Regions from separate parts of the Homo sapiens genome. Here regions 1, 2, 3 and 4 are each linked to region 5. The links are contacts of gene promoters, found by promoter capture Hi-C in blood cells and fetal thymus (Javierre and others, 2016). All regions are on one chromosome and are shown on one strand. The core of a region is centred on a gene start or on the middle of the fragment in contact, and the rest is flanking DNA. Distances in the headings are between cores, read along the strand shown.

Region 1 (2,700 bases), core at 141-2,640, 990 kb before region 5:
GCTTTTCCTTGATAGTTTTTATTATTTGGAAGCTTTTAAAACTTCATGTTTGTATTTCAGTGATTCTCTGAGACCATTTAAAATATGATCACCCTTTCTTTGATCTAGGAAGGCAACTTATCAAGATATATATGTGTGTATATATATATATATATATATATATATATATATATGCACACACACATACAAATATATGTAGTGTGTATCTTCATAAATATATATATATATATTGTATGTGTGCATGTTTGTGTGTATATATGTATGTGTGTATTAGCATCTTCAAGCTCTGTGCTTTAACTATTAATCCCAATTTTCTACATACCACTATATAAAAATCTTTCAATATATTTTAAGTGCTTCTCTTTAAACCAAAGTGTAAGCATGTTAAGTCATATTAAATACAGGCATACCTTATTCTATTGCACTTTGCTGTATTGCACATCACAGATACTGTATAGCTAGAAAACCCAAATAGAGAAGCTTCTTCCTCTTCTTCCTTGCAATCCACACAGTGCAGGCAAAACTTGACAGTTCCTTCATAAGAAGAATATCAGGAACACATCACTAATTCAGATGTCAGATTTATATTAACCAACATCAGTATATGCATGCAAACCTTGACACAACAAAGAAAAGCTCCAGAAAAATAGCCTACATATTTTACTGTAAGGAGGGCTGTGGAGGCATCCTTAGGCCAAGTCTGTCGACTTAGACATGTATATAAAATTAGGTTTTCTTATTTAACTAGCTTGCCTATATTGCTTTTCATGGAAGCATCCTGTTTTTCCTACTTTAGGTAAATTAAATTTGTAAGGAAGAAGCTAAAATACTGAAATACTAGCTGACATGGGGAAGATAAAATAATTGGCCACTGTGAAAAGGACAGACTGTCTGGGGACAAGGGCAAGGCATGACTGGGCCCTGCAGCCACCCTTTTCAGTGTATTTACATTGTGTTGAAATTAAATAACAGAATTCATAACAAAGCATTTTTTTGTTGACCTTACTCTGTTTCATATGGCAGGGAAATGAATAATATATTTTAGAAAAGTTTTAATTATATGTTTTGCTTTATTAGTTTTTGTTTTAGTCTAGGTTTATATATTGAAAGATTTGTGTTGCTGGAAAATTTCCAATGTTGATTGCCTCTGTCCTTAAATTAATACAAATTGTTTATTAATTTACTTATTAATTAATTACTAGAGTATCTTCCAAAACTCTTAGATGATCAATAAGAATCTTTCCAAATCTCTTTTATGCTTTTTGGATTTTTAAAAAATTCCCTTCACATTGTTCCTAAGGGATAAAAGTTATTTGGTCAGAATAATTTCCAAAAAGCCTAAATTTTCTTCTAAGTATGCTAGGAAACCTTTGGCTCATTTTATGCAGGGAAATGATATGATATCACTTTATTTTAAAAGGATCACTCAAGGCTGTTGTGCTCTGTAGATATTTGACTGGGGAACACCCCAAGCAAAAGACATTGGTGGCTTGATCAGGGCAGATGTAGTAGAAATGATGAGAAGTGGTCTAATTTAGAATATATTCAAGTGACAGAGAGATCAGAGTTTACCGACGGAGTAAACATGGGAACTTAGTAAAGGAATAGATAAAAAATGACTCCTTCTGAACTGACCTGAGCAACTAGAGGGATGTCTTGTTCACTGCTGAGTCTCCAGCACCTATAACAGTATCCACATAGTAGGCACTCAAGAAATACTTTTTAATTAAGGCCAGTCTCATCCCAGCCTGTGCATACTGTTTCCAGGTTTAATTCCTTCCATTCCTGCTTTGAAATTCATCTTCTTGCAAAAATAATAGTAATGACTAATATTTGTAGAGCACTTTCTATGTTTCAGGTATTGTTTTAAGTGCCTCATATGTATTCATTCATTTAATTCACAAAAAGTATTTATTAGTTCAATTTACAGCTAAAAATTGATGCACAGAGATACTAAGTAACTTTCCCAAGGACACACACATAATAAGTAGAAGAGCTGACTTTGAATCTAGGCAGTCTGGGTCTAACACTCATTTTTGGAGCATTATACCATTCTGCCTCTGAAAATACTCAGGTCTTCATTAAACTGTGTTTTCTCTCATCTCTCATTCTTAGTGTATTTCCATTCTCTTGGCCTAGAATGATTTTTCTCCTTACTGTCTCATGATTCTTACTCATTCTTAAATGGCTCGACTGTATTAGATAAACTTGCTACTATCTTGTAATCTCCAGTGCACTTATAGCACTGTATTGCCATTGCAATACAGTATAATTGTTTCCTATACTTGACTACAAGCTTCAAGAGAGCTGAGGCCATTGCTGCTCTGCTCGTATGTGCATCATTGGTACTCTATTCATACAGTGCTTAGCTCACCTCACAGGAATGAGAACCCATGATCTTTTACCCCTTCATAGCCTTGCACATGTGTTCTGCCTGGAAAACCCTCTGCTTTCTCTCATGCCTTGTGTACTGGGCAAGCTTTTATCTTCCAGCTTCAACTTAACAGTTTCCTGCTTTGTGAGGCCTCCTTTGAAACACTTGGTAGAGAGCAGAACTCCTGTTTGAACTATCTTGATGGCCATTGACAGTCATGTACAAGTGTTTTATTTCCCCTTTATTAATATTTAACATACTATAGTATGTTCTATACTATGCATGTATATACTATGTACGTATGTTGTATGTATGTATTATAGTAC
Region 2 (2,700 bases), core at 41-2,540, 580 kb before region 5:
GAATAAATTCAGAATTAAAGTCTGTCATCACGAAACAATCTCTTCCAAACCTTAAGTTCTATTTTTAACCATTTAAGTGGCAGATGCCAGGTTATTTCAAAATATCACATACTATTTTCTTTCTTTCTTCATTTGGATGAATGATACAGTGGAGTTCATGCTCTTGCAGGGTCTACCGGTAGGAAGTCCATTCATGAAACCATCAATGTCACTGGTTGCCACAAGACATTTCAAGGAAGAAACTGGCAGATAGAACTAGCACTCGTGGCAATGGAAGGTAGGACTCCCCAACCTCTCAGACTCAATCCCCCACCACTTCCGCGTTGGAATCCGCGACCCTCTTCCCAGAGTTTTCCTGTGGCTTGGGTAGGTCAGCCCTGGGGGCGAGCCAGAGCGGGCACCCGCGCGCCCAGGGGCTTGCCAGCGCAGACCCCACTCCGCCCGCGAGTAGCTTAGTTGGTGGGGAGACTTCAGCTGTCACTCTCGGCCCGCAAAGGCAGATCTGCCCCGATCCCTGCAGCCCTCCCCAGTCCCGGAGACAGGTGTGGGCCGCAGAGGGAAGGGGATCCGGACCAAATGCCCACCCGCAGGCGAGCGACCTGGCGAGGTCGGGCCCACCTTCCTTGGGTTGTAGCGGACGCCGGCAAGCAGGGGTCCAGCGAACGTGGGCATCTGCCCGGCGCCGGATTTTCAACCCACCGCCAGAGATAAGGCTCCCCGCCCACCAGCGAGCCACTTTCCCGCGCGGACACCTCTAACTCCGGCAGCTCAGGCTGGGAACTCGGAGATCCAGAGTGGCCTCCCCTCCCCCCCGCGCATACGTCAGCGCTAGCGTCGTGGAAGCGCCGTAATGTCCCGAAGAAGCGCGTCTCCAAACTTGCACCCCGCTGCCGCAGCTTCAACGGAGAAATCCCTTGCCCCAAGCACACGTCAGCCCTGCCCGCGGAGTCATGGCACAGCAAAAGAGAGGCTCTCCATGGAGATATGCTCCAGAAGGGTGGGTGGCTGTGCCTAAAGGTTTGTTAGAAAAGGACAGTCAGTGAGGCTTGCTGGCTGTGGCGCCTTACGACGCTCTCCCCGACCCCTCGTCATTCAGAAGGTTCCGCAGGTCTCGACAGCGGTGCGCTTGTCAGCCCCATCCGGCGGCCAGCCTCCCTTGCCGGATCGCCCACGTTGTCGGCCTGGTCCGAGTTCTTCATTTCAAAGCATCTGCACCTGCGAGCCCGCGGCCAGAGGCGCTGGGGGCGTTTGTGCGCGTGTATTCTGAGGCGCGTGGTAGTGATGGCGGCGCTCAGTGAGACTTTCCTGTCACTGGCTACTACTACTCCCAACCCTCCTCAAAGCCGCCGGAGCAACCCCCAGGTCTTTACTTTACAATCGGCAATTTGACTTGCTCTGCTGCATGTCTGGAGGGACCAAGGAAAGTGTGGAGACGCTCCAAGGATTAGGTGATCGGAGCTTGAAAAGAAAAAAAGCCAAACAAATAAACAAAACCCACCCACCCTAACAAATATGAGGCTGCTGGAGAGAATGAGGAAAGACTGGTTCATGGTCGGAATAGTGCTGGCGATCGCTGGAGCTAAACTGGAGCCGTCCATAGGGGTGAATGGGGGTAAGTGCTGCACCTCTGCCGGCTCCACCGCGGCTCCCACTTCAGAACTAATTTGTGAGTCTTGGAAAGGTGGGGCAACCCTCATTGCAAGCGCTTGCCAATTTCAGGGGGCACTGACCAGCCTTTGGCCCTTTTGCTGATTTTCTAATTTACCAACCCCAGAGGGAACTTGTAATTAGGAACGAGGCAAAGGAATTTGAGGGCAGGTAGCCTTTTCCGTAGACAAACAATGACTATCCTGAGTGTCAAGAAGTGAGGTTACAGAGAATGAAACTTACTCCTCTTGCCTTCAAAGTAGCATCCTATCCCAAGGGAATCTAGGTTGCTAAGAGTTCCGTATCTATCTTGGAGTGGACCTCATTATCGAGTCTACTTTCGAGTCCTCCCCGCCCCCACATTAAAAAAAAAAGTGGAGGAAAAACAAGAAAAGGGACACCTCCGCCCCCAACTCAGATTTTATGGCCCACATGTTGGAGAGTGATGATTTGCTGTAGTTGCTGGTGCTCCAGAAACTCCCAAGCCGACTGACACGTTGCACTCTTTGATTACAGGACACTTCATTACAGCATACTTCCGTGTGCTGCCGGGATTCAGTTGCTATACTAGCAGTCTAACAGATACAGACTGTTAGACTATGTGTAGTGTAGTGTAGTGTGTGTTTTGGCAAGGAAATGTGGATGGACTGAAAGCATACTTAGATCTCTGAATAGTGGGAGCTTTGTACAGGAGATGATGGGCACTGGTGGGAACATTAGAAATATTAGTTTTTTATGCCCCCCCCAACACCTTTAGACAATCTTGTACTACTTTTCATAAACATTAATTGAATTTATTCAATTCGCTTGTCTTTTTGACCTTGTTTGTCAGTTTCCAAGCTTATTGACAGGTTTAATACCTAACTCATGCAACCGGAGCAAATAAGGATAGAGGTGAACAGGCACAATATTTCATAGTAGGAAGCGCTCAGGAGGATATTTGAAGTTATTTTTATCTTTTTGTTAAAACATGATGGAAGTGAATGAAATGATCTCTTAGGAGAACAGCAGTGGTCCCTTCTCCCCTTAACCTCCACCCCATTACTCTGTTTA
Region 3 (2,700 bases), core at 114-2,613, 760 kb after region 5:
TTTTTAAAGACGGGGAGGAGACTCGAGTTAGGATTTTGGTCTTTCTCTCCAAATTATCTGATTTAGATAGGCCATTTCCTTTTTACACTTACGGATTTGGGCCTGCCGGAGGCCTGACCTGAATCAGCTCCACAGCCATGGAGCTAAAAATAGGGCAGTCTTGGAGGACTTGCTAAAACAGTGTCTCAGCCTTTCCCAGTATTTATCACTATCTTGTCCCAAGTAAAAATGGGAAAGCCTTCTAGTTTGCTTTCATGTATATATTAATTTGCAGAGATATTTGTCATACTACTTTAATTCTTTCGAAGTGTTATCAACCTTGCACAATAATTTACATTTTAGACAGTTGTCATTTAACCTTGCTTTTCTTGCAGTGCTTGACTTTGTGAATTACCAGCACTCTCACACTTTATAGAAGTTGCTAAGAGTTTTGCTTCTGAGCAACAGGTTCAGATAGATTGTATGTGCCAAAATCTTTGTTAAAAGAGAAGAACCAGTAGATATGCCTACCATTGCTTTTGATTGAAAATAAGCTTTACTAACTTATGTTTGCCACCTGTTGCTAGGTAAATGGCTTTAAGACTAGCTCCACGTTGCTAATGGCAGAGGAAAGCCCTATCAGATGACACTGTGGTTTATTCATACGAGTAATACCTTGATTCATGATAGTGTCTAACATAGCTTCTGTGAAAGAAGTGTTGCTAAATGTCATTTGTTGAATTGGCAAAAAAATTCTACGGTGGTTATTTTTATATATAGATAGTCCTTTTTGGTCACATACTCTTAGAATATATAAGAATATAGTTTAATAGTGTCCAAGAACAGCAGTGAAGGTAGAATCAGTTAAACTGAAAACCAGTTATTACACTGAAAACAAACTAATTGCTAACCTCAACAGGTGCATTTTCAGTGTATCTCAGCGTAATAGGACATACTAGGCGTCCAGGCAGTTGTGCCGGTTCTGTGGGTATAAATGAGCCTTGGTTGTGATCCAAGAGAGCTGTAGAATGCACAGCTGGAGCCTCCCTTTTCCCAAATGCTCTACTCATGCTAAACGTAAAGGGAGAACCACTCAATTGGATCTGTAACTTTTTTTTTTTGAGACAGAGTCTTACTCTGTCACTCAGGCTGGAGTGCCCTGGCACGATCTCGGCTCACTGCAACCTCTGCCTCCTGGTTTCAAGCCATTCTCCTGCCTCAGCCTCCCAGGTAGCTGGGACTACAGGCACGCACCACCACACCTGGCTAATTTTTTTTTTTTTTTTGTATTTTTTAGTAGAGATGGGGTTTTCACCATGTTGACCAGGCTAGTCTCAAACTCCTGACCTCAGGGGACCCACCCTCCTCGGCCTCCCAAAGTGCTGGGATTACAGGCGTGAGCCACAGTGCCCGGCCAGGATCTGTAACTTTTAAAGATACTTTCTATTAATATAAATTCTCAAGAGGCCTTGATGGTAGTTTGAAATGTGTTACTTTAAGTGTGTCTGAGTTTTTTTTTTTTAAACCATAACCCTTTACGGTACAGGAATATCTTTATTTGAGATACCCAGTAATAGAAAAGAATTTTAATCTCCTTTAAGCATGTTAAATAATTGGGAGCTAGGGCCGGGCGTGGTGGCTCATGTCTGTAATCCCAGCACTTTGAGAGGCCCAGGCGGGCAGATCACCTGAGGTCAGGAGTTTGAGACCACCCTGCCCAACATGGTGAAACCCTGTCTCTACTAAAAATAGAAAAATGAGCCGGAAAAAAAAAAAAGAAAGAAAGAAAAATTAGCCGGACATGGCAGCTCCTGTAATCCGGCTACTCGGGAGGCTGAGGCAGGAGAATCGCTTGAACTTGTGAGGCGGAGGTTGCGGTGAGCTGAGATTGCACCACTGCACTCCAGCCTGGTGGGGGAAAAAAGAATTGGGAGCTAGCTAGAAGGAAGCATTGGATAAGAAATAGTTGTTTCAGGCTGGGCACAGTGGCTCATGCCTGTTGTAATCCCAGCACATTGGGAGGTCGAGGTGGGCGGATCACGAGGTCAGGAGTTTGAGACCAGCCTGGCCAAGATGGTGAAACCCTGTCTCTACTAAAAATACAAAAATTAGCCAAGCGCCGTGGTAGTTGGCTGTAATCCCAGCTACTCAGGAGGCTGAGGCAGGAAGATCGCTTGAACCTGGGAGGTGAAGGTTGCAGAGAGCCAAGCTTGCGCCACTGCACTCTAGCCTGGGTGACAGAGCAGGACTCCGTCTCAAAAAAAAAAAAAGAAATAGTTGTTTCAATTCACAGCTTTAGAATTTTGGTAAAAGACCACATGCCAGTAAGTTATCTTTTTGTTGAACTGGTTGTTTAATAGAAGAAAATGTAAACTGCAGAGTGAGAGGATCTGGATCATACTTTGTAGGTTGGTACTTTACAATTTAGGGCATAAAAACAAACCCCAAACCTCTTGGGATGATACCACACAACATTTTTGCACCCCCTATGCTGCCTACTTGGATGTTCTTTCTTGTCTTATAAGCTTGATCACCAAGGAAAGAATGAGTGCCTTAATTTTTCTGAAACCATAGTGGACTTAAATTTTTACACAGAGCCTCTAAGTGGATTCAGAATTAATGGGAAAAATAAATCGGCCTCTTACAGGCTGAAAGCCTCAAAATACATTCCTACAGAAGTTGCCAGTTTGTCTTTTTCAATATGTATAGGATGAAGTTGAG
Region 4 (2,700 bases), core at 86-2,585, 730 kb after region 5:
GGACCCTTTGAAAGGGAGAGTGGGGTTTTTTTTCTTTTTTTCTTTTCTTTGTTGAAACGGAATTTTGCTCTTGTCACTCAGGCTGGAGTGCAATGGCACGATCTTGGCTCTCTGCAACCTCTGCCTCCTGGGTTCAAGCAATTCTCCTGTCTCAGCCTCCCAAGTAGCTAGGATTACAGGCACCGGCCAACATGCCCGGCTAATTTTTGTATTTTTAGTACAGATGGGGTTTCACTATGTTGGCCTGGCTAGTCTCGAACTCCGGACCTCAGGTGATCCACCTGCCTTGGCCTCCTGAAGTGCTGGGATTACAGGTGTGAGTCACCGTGCCCAGCCAGGAGTATGGGTTTTATCAGGAAGGATCTGAAAACACTGCCTGCTTGTACTAGAAATCGTCCTTCAAACCTACCCCGTGAGATCTGCAGTCCTTTACCAGGATGACTGTGCACTGGGAAAAGACAAGTATCCAAATTTGGGGGAATTCATAGATTTGAGTTGATGCTAATCAAATTTGAGTTGATGCTAATCCCTGGGAAAAATCACTGTGATCCATCATTCATTCAGAATGGGGGCTTATAGAGGTCAGGGGGTTAATGGAGTTTGGGGCTGAGACTATGTCACAGTGGGCCCAGTGGGCTCGCAGCCCCATCCTGTGGTTATATCCTCTGTCTCTGGATATATCTCTGGATAGTTGAGGTAGACATACCTAGCAACTGCAGAATCTCACATGCAACTACTCATAACTCAGAGTACAGTGGAGAGGGGAGCAAAAAGAAGATATTCGGTACAGCCTCTTTTCTCACCCATCGTGGTACTTGATTGCATACAAAGTGACCATAGCAGTAGGGATAGAGTCAATCATAACAGGGACTTCAATAACAGAGACTTCCCTTAACAAGGCTGATCTGACTATAGCCACTGCTGGGTGCCCAACCAGCCAACAGCAGAGGCCAACACTGAGTCACTGATAGGGCACATTTCCCAGAGGAGACCAGCCAGCTGTTTTGTGGTAGGTAGACAATAGTGAGCTCCTTCCATCACAGAAGGAGCAAATTAAGCACTTACTGAGGATATGCATTGGTCCTCAATGCCTGCAATAAATCTCCCAATACCATCTATGGGTTCACAGGAGGCCTTATTCAGTAGCATGGTATTCCTTACAATATGACTTCTGGAAACCATTTTACAAAAAAAAAAAAAAAAAAGTACAATTGTTCATTGCTCATGGAGTTCACTGGTCTTACTACCTAAATTATCAGCCAGAAGCAGCTGGCCTAATAGAATGGAAGAATAGCTTACTAAGAAGCCAGTTATGTCATCTGCCAGAAGACAACATTCTATGATGTAGGGGTGCAGTATAACTCTGATCCAGCTCTCTACTTATGATGTGTTATTTCTCTCATAGCCATAATACATGGGATAGTCCAAGTGATAGAAATGGGAGTGGCCTCTCTCCCTGTTAAGCCTAGCCCTTTCTCAGAGGTTTTGCCTCTCATTCTCACCCTTGGGCTTTGCTAGTTTACAGGACTTAGTTCCCAAAGAGGAATATTGTCACCAGAGAATCCAACACAAGTCCCATCAAATTGGAAGCTGAGACTCACCAACAAGTAGAGAAGGAAGTTGCTGTAGAGACTGGAAAAATTGATCTGATTAACACAAGAAAACTGGGTGGCTGGTGCATGGTGCAGGTAGGGAGGATCATGTCTAGAACCCCAGGGATTCTCTAGGATATCTCATTACTTCTATGTCCAGTGTAAAGCCACCCAATAAAATCTGAACTTCTATGGACTAAGATCCTTCAATATAAAGGTCTTAGTCACCCAATCAGGTACAGAATCCCAACAAATCCAGGTGCTATATTAGGACAAAGCAATCATGAAATGGGTGGTGGAAGAAGGAAGTAATAAATATCACTCTTGACCCTGTAATCAGTTACAGAAATATGGATCATAGCAGCTATGCACATACACGCACACAATATTTCATATGTGCCAGTTTTTTTTTCTTTCAGATTTTCTTACCATTATCTTCCCTCTTATGTTGAATGAGAATTGGTAGTGACTAATTTTACAATTTAGTTCACAGGTAACCAGGACCACAAGGAACCACAACAGGGAGGATTACAGGATTGTGTTATCACCTGGAAAATCTTGAGATAGGTACAATGGCTGACTTTTCTAGGACCTTGTGTGTCCATTTTCTGGAAAAAAAGACAACAGTATCTTTGTTTGCATGATGGATAGTAGACTCATGTTAGGCAGAATCATGGAGTTGCTGTTGTATTGGTATAAGGGTGTTATGGTTTGGCTCTGTGTCCCCACCCAAATCTCACCTTGAATTGTAATAATCCCCATATGTCCTGGGAGGAACCTGGTGAGAGGTAATTGAATCATAGGGGCGGGTTTTCCTCCACTGTTTTCATGATAGTGAATAAGTCTCATGAGATATGATGGTTTTATAAAGGGGAGATCCCCTGCACAAGCTCTCTTGCCTGCCACCATGTAAGATGTACCTCTGCTTCCCCTTTGCCTCTGCCATGATTGTGAGGCCTCCCCAGCCATGTGAATGTGTGAGCCCATTAAATTTCTTTCCTTTATAAATTACCCAGTCTCAGGTAAATCTTTATTAGCAGCATGACAACAGACTAATACAAAGAATAAGAATAGATCCTGAATGGCAAAATGGTTAGACTCTCAAATA
Region 5 (2,700 bases), core at 88-2,587:
TGTCTTTACTGTGCCTCCACTTTCTTTGATGAAAAGGTCTATTTAAAAATTGGTAGGAAAATATTTAACATAATAAGATGATGAGTCAGAGTTTTAAAAAAGCTAAAAAGGGAAGATGTAGTTAAATAATGCACCTTTTTATTTTCTAGCTACATGACTCATGACATATAATGTATTCTGCTAAGTTCAAAGTTTCCTCTTACAAAGAGAGTTTTATGAAACAACTCTTCTTCAGACCATTTTTATTTCAATTATAGTAGCAGGTTTTGGAGTTTAAATCATTAACAACCTCTGAGTGAACTTTTATCCAAATGACTGCAAGTCACAAAGAGAACAGTCCTCTTTCACCAAGTACCTTTTGTGCTCTAGTGAGACCCGTCCTTTTCTATTTTTCTCCTTTATGTCTCTCTTTGAAGAAAGATGTGTGATTTGTAAGGTAATGAAAGTATGTATCAGTTAATGAAAACTGCTATATTGGGCTCATAATGCACACTGGAATTGCTTCAGGGTAAACTTCATATACCTGCAGTATATAGCAGGGGAAAAAGTGAATTTCCGAAGTAAAGATTGCTGTGTGCACTCTAGGAGTATCACGTAGCAGTTAAAGCAACCATCAGGGGTGACCTAATCTTATTTTCCTCTCTTTGTCAAGTAGCTGTAATGTTCATTTAGGAGCATTTTTCAGTTTTAACTCCAGTGGACACTCCAAAACTGGGCACTTATTCTGTCAACTGTCAACCAAGTTATTGATTTCACCATATGTTGTCTTCATTTTTTTTAAATTAGTTTTTTTGGAATGTTTTTGAAGAGTGTGTGGGAGACGATAACCTCCAGATTTAAGGTGATGGGGTAGGGACAAAAGCCTGCAGAATTTCATACAGAACAAAATGTAGCTTAATAAACAAAAGAAAGTGAAGAGAGAAATTTATTTCCTTTTTAAAAGTCAGTAAAATAATGAACTAATCGTTGTTTAAAGAGTGAGAAAAACTTTTTCCCCCTAGATTTGGTGACTAGCGGGATAAATTTGAAGAACTCCATCCCACCCCCGCACGCGCGCCCCCCATTCTTTCCAGACAGAGCGGTTGTAAATCCGAGGCTGAGTCCGCCCTGGGAGCCTTGGGGCACTTTCCTCTTTGCTCTGTGTGTGTGTGTGCGTGCGTGTGTGTGTGTGTAGCTCTCGCTCTTTCCCTCAGTCTGTGCCTCTTGTGTGTGTGTGTGTGTGACAGAGAGAGAGCGAGAGAGAGAGCGCGAGAGGAGAGAGAGCGAGAAAGAGAGAGAGAGAGAGCAAGAGAGCGAGCTGTGAGCTGTGCTGCCGCCGCCGCTGCCCTTTGATCCCGACATTAGTGTTAGGGGCTCGGAGACACAGAGCGCGGCCATAGACACCGCCGCACCGGCACTCATTTATTTATACCTCCCATCACACACGCGAGCATAGGACACACACACACTCACACCTATTAGATCCGTTTCCATTGAAGAATATTACGCTCGGGGACAAGCCAGGTGCACGACCAAAAATTTAAAAAAAAAAAAAAAAGGAAAAAAGAAAGGAAAGAAAAGAAGAAAACCCCTCTTCTGGCTCCAGGAAACAAGCTTCAACCCATTGCACACACCGGAGAAGGGGTTTCCCCCTGCCCGCCCGCCCGCCCCCCAACTACCTCCCCGCTCCTGCCAGTGTCTGCCTCTCTGCCCCCACGGGGGTTTATTTGATCTCACATTAACCAAGGAGGAGAATGTGAGAAAAGGGGGAAAATGCCCAGGAGGAAGCAGGAGCAGCCCAAGCGCCTTCCCTCACGTAAGTCATCCCTTCTCCACCTCCTCTCGTGCCATTTTCTCGCCCTCCCTCTCCTCTTTCCCCTCCGCAGCCTCCTCCGTTGTTTTCTGCATTAGTTTAGGGTTACAGAGGTGAAACTGACAAAGACACAGCCCGGGTTACTCCTCGTTTAGGTCTATGCTGAGGCAGCCATGTTGGTGATGATCAGCCCCGTGCCCTTTCTATTCTCTCTCTCTTTTTCTTTCTTTCTCTCACCCCCCCCCTTTTTTTCCTTGAGATCGGGCTTTTTTTTCCCTTTCCCTCCCCTTCCCCCTCCTCACTCTGGGTTGCTGGGGGGAGGGGGCAAGAGAAGGGAGGAGGGGAGTAGTGTGGATGCCGGGGGTTTTATCGGGGGTTTGGTGGGGGGAGGTGGGAGAGGTTGGAATCTTAAAAAAAAAAAAATTCCTTGTGGATTCCGGCGCCTGAGGGTGCGGGGGTCGGGGCGCGCGGAGGGCTGGGGGCCGTGACATGGCGTTTGGGGGTGTCGGGGAGAGGGCGCGCAGCAGCCGCCGGGTACAGGATCCAGGGAGAGGTCCGTCCCTGGCTAAAGGTTGCGCCGGGGTTGGTCGGCCCCCGAGCCGCCGGCGGCAGCGGCGGCGGCGGCTGGAGCAGGAGGAGGCGGAGGTGGAGGAGGCGGCGGCGGAGGAGGGGAGTCGGGGGCGGGCGAGGCGGGAGCGGCTGGGGAGGGTGTAGGGGCACCGCACACAAACACACGGGTACACACGCGCCGCCGGGCGGCTGCTCCCGCGGCGCCGAGGCGAGGGGGCGCGCCGGGGCGCGGGGCGGCCGGGCGGGGGGCGAGGCCGGGCAGCGGCGGGCGGATGTGGGGTGCGGGAGCTGCGCCGAGGCGAAGGCAGGAGGCAGGGCGGCTCGCGGCGCGCGAGGTC

The links. The method cuts DNA at HindIII sites, captures the fragments that hold promoters and counts their contacts. A CHiCAGO score of 5 or more calls a contact.
Region 1: a fragment that was not itself captured here is called in contact with the fragment with the promoter of ZNF827 in region 5 in 1 of 17 cell types (M2 macrophages); the score reaches 7.3 in M2 macrophages.
Region 2: a contact is called between the fragment with the promoter of SLC10A7 here and the fragment with the promoter of ZNF827 in region 5, in 1 of 17 cell types (fetal thymus). The highest score is 6.3, in fetal thymus.
Region 3: a contact is called between a fragment that was not itself captured here and the fragment with the promoter of ZNF827 in region 5, in 2 of 17 cell types (fetal thymus and total CD8 T cells). The highest score is 8.7, in fetal thymus.
Region 4: a contact is called between a fragment that was not itself captured here and the fragment with the promoter of ZNF827 in region 5, in 1 of 17 cell types (activated CD4 T cells). The highest score is 5.5, in activated CD4 T cells.

The regions. Positions count from the first base shown.
Region 1 is chr4:146,927,558-146,930,257 of GRCh38, reverse strand. The region is part of intron 4 of TTC29 (tetratricopeptide repeat domain 29); the gene reads left to right. Among named protein-coding and RNA genes, the nearest start is that of TTC29-AS1, 5.1 kb to the left of the region's middle. The HindIII fragment of the contact is 1,816 bases long and covers 483-2,298 here.
Region 2 is chr4:146,520,530-146,523,229 of GRCh38, reverse strand. It overlaps SLC10A7 (solute carrier family 10 member 7), which reads left to right and starts at 1,290. Exons shown (of 12, transcript NM_001029998.6): 1 at 1,290-1,612. The coding sequence starts at 1,513. RefSeq lists enhancers at 443-522, 693-1,112, 1,123-1,202, 1,423-1,492, 1,933-2,162. The HindIII fragment of the contact is 7,940 bases long and covers 1-2,489 here.
Region 3 is chr4:145,175,099-145,177,798 of GRCh38, reverse strand. The region is part of intron 1 of OTUD4 (OTU deubiquitinase 4); the gene reads left to right. Among named protein-coding and RNA genes, the nearest start is that of OTUD4, 4.1 kb to the left of the region's middle. The HindIII fragment of the contact is 1,655 bases long and covers 536-2,190 here.
Region 4 is chr4:145,206,397-145,209,096 of GRCh38, reverse strand. No RefSeq gene overlaps it. Among named protein-coding and RNA genes, the nearest start is that of OTUD4, 27 kb to the right of the region's middle. The HindIII fragment of the contact is 3,706 bases long and covers 1-2,700 here.
Region 5 is chr4:145,937,460-145,940,159 of GRCh38, reverse strand. It overlaps ZNF827 (zinc finger protein 827), which reads left to right and starts at 1,337. Exons shown (of 15, transcript NM_001306215.2): 1 at 1,337-1,795. The coding sequence starts at 1,753. RefSeq lists an enhancer at 1,961-2,020 and silencers at 2,395-2,464, 2,585-2,700. The HindIII fragment of the contact is 1,765 bases long and covers 1-1,595 here.